2 separate regions of the Homo sapiens genome follow, and region 1 is linked to region 2. The links are contacts of gene promoters, found by promoter capture Hi-C in blood cells and fetal thymus (Javierre and others, 2016). All regions are on one chromosome and are shown on one strand. The core of a region is centred on a gene start or on the middle of the fragment in contact, and the rest is flanking DNA. Distances in the headings are between cores, read along the strand shown. Region 1 has its middle 24 kb from the start of SCN4B. Region 2 holds the start of CD3D (CD3 delta subunit of T-cell receptor complex).

Region 1 (3,204 bases), core at 150-2,649, 210 kb after region 2:
TCCCCTTCCATGGCCTGCAAGCAGATATAGAAAAGAACAATCCTGGACTTAGAATCCAGGAATCTGGGTTCAAGTTCTCACTCTGTTACCTACCAGTGAAACGGCCTTGGGAAAGCCACTTCATCTCTCCAAGCCTTAGTTCCCTAACCTGCAAAATGGGGATGATGACATCTACTGCATGGTACTCTTGTAAGATTAAATGAATCAACAGGTGTGAATTTTTTTTTTTTTTTTGAGACAGAGTCTGGCTCTGTTGCCCAGGCTGGAGTACAGTGGCACGATCTCAGCTCACTGCAACCTCCACCTCCTGGGTTCAAGCAATTCTCCTGCCTCAGCCTCCCAAGTAGCTGGGATTACAGGCATGTGCCACCATGCCCAGCTAATTTTTTGTATTTTTAGTAAGACGGGGTTTTGCCACGTTGGCCAGGCTGGTCTTGAACTCCTGACCTCAGGTGATCTGCTCGCTTTGGCCTCCCAAACTGCTGGGATTACAGGCATGAGCCACCATGCTTGGACTGAAATACTTAAAAACTACAAAGTGCAGGCCATGTAAATGTTAAGTAGTTTGTAAGCTGAGCCAGCATTACGGGAGGAAAACCCAGGTGTGGCCAGCACTGAGCTCACACCCTCCTGTTCCTGGTCAGGAGGGGCTGTCAGCTGAGTGGGTGAGGGCTGGGAGGCGAGTGACCAGCCCTTCCTGACTTCCTGGCAGACTTGGTTATGTCAACTGCCCAAAACCAAACTCATGATTTCACCTCAATCTGACCCCAAATCTGCTCCTCCCCACGTTTCCTCATTCATCCAGTCATCAGGCCAAAAATTTTGGAGTCTACCATGACTCCTTATTTTGTCTCCGACCTGAAACCTTTTTGTCAGCAAATCCCATTAACTCTTATGTTCAAAATATATCATCACCTCAACTACCTCTCGCTACCACCATCCCTACAGTCCTTGCCCAGGCCGCCCTGGCTCTCCCCTGGATTATTGCAGTAGCTTTCTCACTGGTCTTCCTGCTTTTACCCTTGGTCCTCTTTAATCTAATTTCCAGGGTGGTTCTTTTAAAACAGGATTAGATGATGTCATCTCTAGCTCTGGCCAAGGTGGAGGCATAGGGACCATTTACCCTTGCACCTCAAACAACTAAAAAAATTGGAAAGCACCTATGATACAATGGTTTTCAGACCCTGGACAATAGGCAGCAGAGAATTGTCATTCCTGAGAGGGAGAAACGCAGGAGATGAGCTTTACTGTTGCTCCAGTTTACTGCCTGGAGATCGTTTGTAGGCTGTAGTGCCTGGAAGGCTGGGGAGAGGGCCCCAGGCTAAGCCTAGCATTCTCTCTGAGTTGTGGAGAGGTGCCAAGAATCTGGGGGGAGGTTAGGATAGTAAGAGTTTGCAGGACCAGAGAACCTTGGAGGGTCCTCCCAAGTTTTCAGCTGAGCGCTGATAGTGCAGTTGTGTGAGGAAACTACCTAAGGCAAGGGAAGGAGCCTCTAGAAAGGATGAGGAAGGAAAATCCCTGGAGCTCACATAGGGCAGCCTTTAATCCAGGGCTGACCTCACCCCACTACTGAGGCAATGCCCTTTGAATACTCTTCCTCATCTCTCATGAATTAGGAAGTTTTGCCATTTTAGTTGGCTGTAATGTGAACTACTCTTCGCCCTGCATGAGCTCCGGGGATTGCTTCCTCTAATCTTTTCTGGTGGTTCTTTCTCAGCCTCGGGTGTGCCTGGATCAGCAGCTGAAGGCTCACGGGGACCGTTTGCAGATCTCTGGAGCGCTGTCTCTGTGAAGCTGTCTCTTCTCTGAGATACTGCCCAGTGAGCCCTATCCACAGGACTCCTGACTCCATCTCCTTGATTCTGAGAGGTTGCCAGACTCTGCCCGAGTCCCCTTTCCTGGTGCTGTAGCAATTGGAGGGCTCCCTCATTTGGTTCTCCGCTCTCAGGAATCACTGACCTGTGCTGCCTGATGCCCTGTGTCTGAAAGCCATTTCGTGCATTTTCCCCCCAGCGTTTTAGTTGTTTCAGATGGGAAAGTAATTGCATTTTTTGTTACTGCATTCTTGTCAGAAGAAATTCATGAAAATTTATGTTCACTGAAAAACCCGTACAGAGTTGCTTCTAGAGGTTTTGCCATTGCCAAAACAAATAAATAACCTAAATCTCTGACTGGTGAGTAGATAAAACAAACTGTGTCTAGCCATACAATACAATGGAATATTCCACAAAATCCCATGCACTATGGGATTCTCAAATGCAGTATGCTAAGTGAAAGCACTGGATGAATCTCAAATGCAGTATGCTAGGTGAAATAATTCAGACTCAGAAAGGTACCTGCGTTATCATCTGTGACCCATGTACCACTCTGGTGGGGGTGTTGATGATAATGAGGGACACTCCTGCATGTGTGGAGGCAGGGAGTATATATGAAATCTCTTTACCTTCTGCTCAGTTTTGCTGTGAAACTAAAACTGCTCTAAAAAAAATATTAAGTGTTGGGTTGGTTGCGGTGGCTCATGCCTGTAATTTCAGCTTTGGGAGGCTGAGTTGTAAGGATCCCTTGAGGCCAGGAGTTCAAGACCAGCCTGGGCAACATAGCGAGACCTTGTCTCTCCCAAAACATAAATAAATAAATAAAATAAAAATTAACAATAAAATAAAAAGTGAAGTATTAAGAAAGCCTAAGTCCAGGCGTGGTGGCTTACGCCTGTAATCCCAGCATTTTGGGAGGCTGAGGATGGTGGATCACTTGAGGTCAGGAGTTTGAGACCAGCCTGGCCAACATGGTGAAACCCCGTCTCTACTAAAAATACAAAAATTATCCGGGCATGGTGGCAGGTGCCTGTAATCCCAGCTACTCGGGAGGCTGAGATGCGAGAATTGCTTGAAATCAGGAAGCAGAGGGTATAGTAAGCCAAGATCGTACCACTGCACTCCAGCCTGGGCTGGACTCAGTCTCAAAAAAAAAAAAAAAAAAGAAAGCCTAAAGCCTCAAAAACAAACAAAAAGATACTTACTATATGGTTCCATTTATATTACATTCTGGAAAAAGCAAACTATAGGGACAGCAAACAATAGGGACAGCAAACAAAACAGTGGTTGTAAGGCGCTATAGGTTGGGGACGGGTTGGCTATAAAGGGCAAGCGAGGCTTTTTGTGGGTGATGGAGCTATGGTGGTAGTTGCTTACTTGTGTACATTTG
Region 2 (3,013 bases), core at 1-2,500:
AAGCCACCTCAGTCCAGGCCTTCATTCAGGAATTTTTTTCACTTTTTTTTTCTTTTTCTTTTTTGAGACAGAGTCTCACTTTGTTGCCCAGGCTGGAGTGCAGTGGCGCTATCTCAGCTCACTGCAACCTCCACCTCCGGGGTTCAAGCGATTCTCCTGCCTCAGCCTCCTGAGTAGCTGAGATTACAGGTGCGTGCCAGCAAGCCCGGCTAATTTTTGTATTTTTAGTAGAGACGGGGTTTCACCTTGTTGGTCAGGCTGGTCTCGAACTCCTGACCTTGTGATCCACCTGCCTCAGCCTCCCAAAGTGTTGGGATTACAGGCGTGAGACACGGCACCTGGTTTCACTATTCTTTTGAGATCATGAAAGAGGCGCCTGGAAGGCAATAGGTGGAACAATTCCGAGGACAGGCCAGCACATTTTCAGGGGCCAGAGCCCGGACTGAATGTCCAGGATCTCAGGCCCCTATCTCCCTCAGCCAGTCAGTCAGTGAGCCAACAAAAATGTGCAGAGCTCCCGTTATGTGCCAGGCACAAGATACAGCAGTGAGCAAGACAGGCATGACTCTGTCCCCAGGTAAGTGACAGTCTAACTGCAGCAGCGTGAAGAGTTTCAGATCCTCGTAGGCCACAGGGGAAAAAGGTCCATTTGTCTCACCGGGAGGCTCAATATTGCCTGTCAGTCAATTATATTATTATTAATAACTACCCCTTAATGAGCACATATGATGCGTGAGGCACCATGCAAATATCTTGTTTGAATCCTAATAATGGTACTAATGGAATAAGACTCTGAAAAATTTTATGGCTGGCCCAGGCCCCACAGGTAGGCAGTATTGGACCCAGGATTCAAATCTCTGGCTGGGGTCTCTAAAGCCCAACCTCCCACTGACAAGAAGCTGCTAGATCTGGTGTCCCTGGCTGCCTAGTGAAGGGTCCTGAGAAAGATCAGCCTCCATGAGAAATCTAGCTGCTACGGCTTGCGCTATGGGGCCGACGGCTTCTCTCAAGGGGCTTCGAGATGTGGCAGTGTTTAGGTTGTGTGTAAATGTGGTTGCATTGTCAATAGGGACGCTAAAGTTCAGGCCACCTTTTCCATATTCTCTGCCAGCTCCCTGCTCAGAGATAGAGCAATTTACACCGCTTCCTTCCTACCCTACCCCTAGCCCACCCCCACTCTGAAAATTTCCCACCATCAACGGCAGAAAGCAGAGAAGCAGACATCTTCTAGTTCCTCCCCCACTCTCCTCTTTCCGGTACCTGTGAGTCAGCTAGGGGAGGGCAGCTCTCACCCAGGCTGATAGTTCGGTGACCTGGCTTTATCTACTGGATGAGTTCCGCTGGGAGATGGAACATAGCACGTTTCTCTCTGGCCTGGTACTGGCTACCCTTCTCTCGCAAGGTAAGGCTACTCCAGGTGGGTGGGGGAAGGGACCTGAGAGGGACATTACTGATGGGAGTGAGGCCCACTTGAAAGTGTTTCTTGCCAGGCACGGTGGCTCACACCAGTAATCCCAGAGCTTTGGGAGGCCGAAGTGGGAGGATCCTTTGAGGCCAGGAGTTTGAGACCAGTCTGAGCAACATGATGAGACTCTATCTTTACAAAAAACAAAAGAATTAGCCAGGCATGGTGGTGCACAACTGTAGTCCCAGCTATTTGAGAGGCTGAGGCAGGAGGGTCACTTGAGCCCGGGATTTCAAGGCTTCAGTGAGCTGTGATCATGCCACTGCCCTCCAACCTAGGCAACCTGTGAGACCTTATCTCAAAAAAAAAAAAAAGTGCTTCTCGGTGCTAGCTTCAGTTCACCAGGCACCCCAGGGGTGTCAGGAGGGCAGGGGCAGGATGTAGCATAGAGTCTGGGAAACAGGCTCTTGGCTTTGACTGACTCCAGCCATGGGTGCATGTGGGCCTAGAATGTCTCTCAGAAGGCCTTAGGCCAGAGATCTGCAGAAAATAGCTCAGTACGTATGTACCTGAATCTGGGACTGGCCATGGGAGCACAGCTTCCTGCACTACTCCTTTTAGGCCTGATGGCCTCTGGAATCAGGACTCTTGTTTGTTTGGCCATGATTATGTCATCCCTGGAGGCATGTCCTAGCACTTATGTGAATGCTTTAAGAGAAGTTAACTTTAGGTTGAGCAGGACGGAGGGAAGATTTGAGGGGTTGTTACATGGTAGGATTTTAACTCATCTCAGTTTGCCAATTTCAGTTTTAAAATGGAAAGTCCCATGTCCGAGGAACCCCTTCAACACTAAGCAAACTGGGTCCAATGGTCACCTAATAGTTGGCTGCACTAGGGCACTCAGGATTTCCACTGGAGACAGATCCCTGAAGAGGACGCGACTGTAGGACGTGAAGCATTTGATGTGCATGTGTCTCCCTGAGGATACATGCATATACTTCCAACCTGCTTCAGAAGTGTGAGCAACAGCTGTTTCAGGGTTTTCTAGAAGATGCTCTTGTATCCAAATTTGGGACTTAGTGTGAAGCCCAGGATGAATGAATGTAGCCTCCACTTTTCCCTGTGTTTGGAGGCATAGACTGTAGTGCCTCTGTGGCCTGTGGAGATGTGCTCAGGCTGTCAGAGGAACTCACTGCATCTGGAATGTTGCTGCACTCACCTCCAGCCCTAAAAGTCTCCCACAAGACTTGACTTGTGAGGAGCTCTAGGGATGGATTCAATAAAATTTTTTTCCTGTTCTCCTCCTTCTAACCAAGGGTGGAAAACTGTACATGGGATTTGCCCTGGTCCCGTTCTGGACCACTTGGCTGATAATTCAGGGGCTGGTAAACCAGCTGGTCTCCACCCACAGCCATCCCTGGCCCTGGGAAAGGCTTCAGTGTTGAGAGCCCCGCTTTCTTGGTTGTCAATGGAGCAGGGGCAATGAGGAAGGATGAGGATAAGAAGCTGAAGTGGGAGTGTTGTAGATGGCTGGGAAGTGGAATTAGATGTTTCCTTGAAGAAAAAATGCAGACATTTCCAATCGAGGAATGTTCTTCTGTCTTTCCA

What was found. Contacts are between HindIII fragments. The CHiCAGO score rates a contact against its expected background, and 5 or more counts as called.
Region 1: a contact is called between a fragment that was not itself captured here and the fragment with the promoter of CD3D in region 2, in 1 of 17 cell types (neutrophils). The highest score is 5.1, in neutrophils.

The regions. Positions count from the first base shown.
Region 1 is chr11:118,127,465-118,130,668 of GRCh38, reverse strand. No RefSeq gene overlaps it. Among named protein-coding and RNA genes, the nearest start is that of SCN4B, 24 kb to the left of the region's middle. RefSeq lists enhancers at 1-285, 286-787. The HindIII fragment of the contact is 4,106 bases long and covers 1-3,204 here.
Region 2 is chr11:118,340,942-118,343,954 of GRCh38, reverse strand. It overlaps CD3D (CD3 delta subunit of T-cell receptor complex), which reads left to right and starts at 1,250. Exons shown (of 5, transcript NM_000732.6): 1 at 1,250-1,402. The coding sequence starts at 1,348. The HindIII fragment of the contact is 13,588 bases long and covers 1-3,013 here.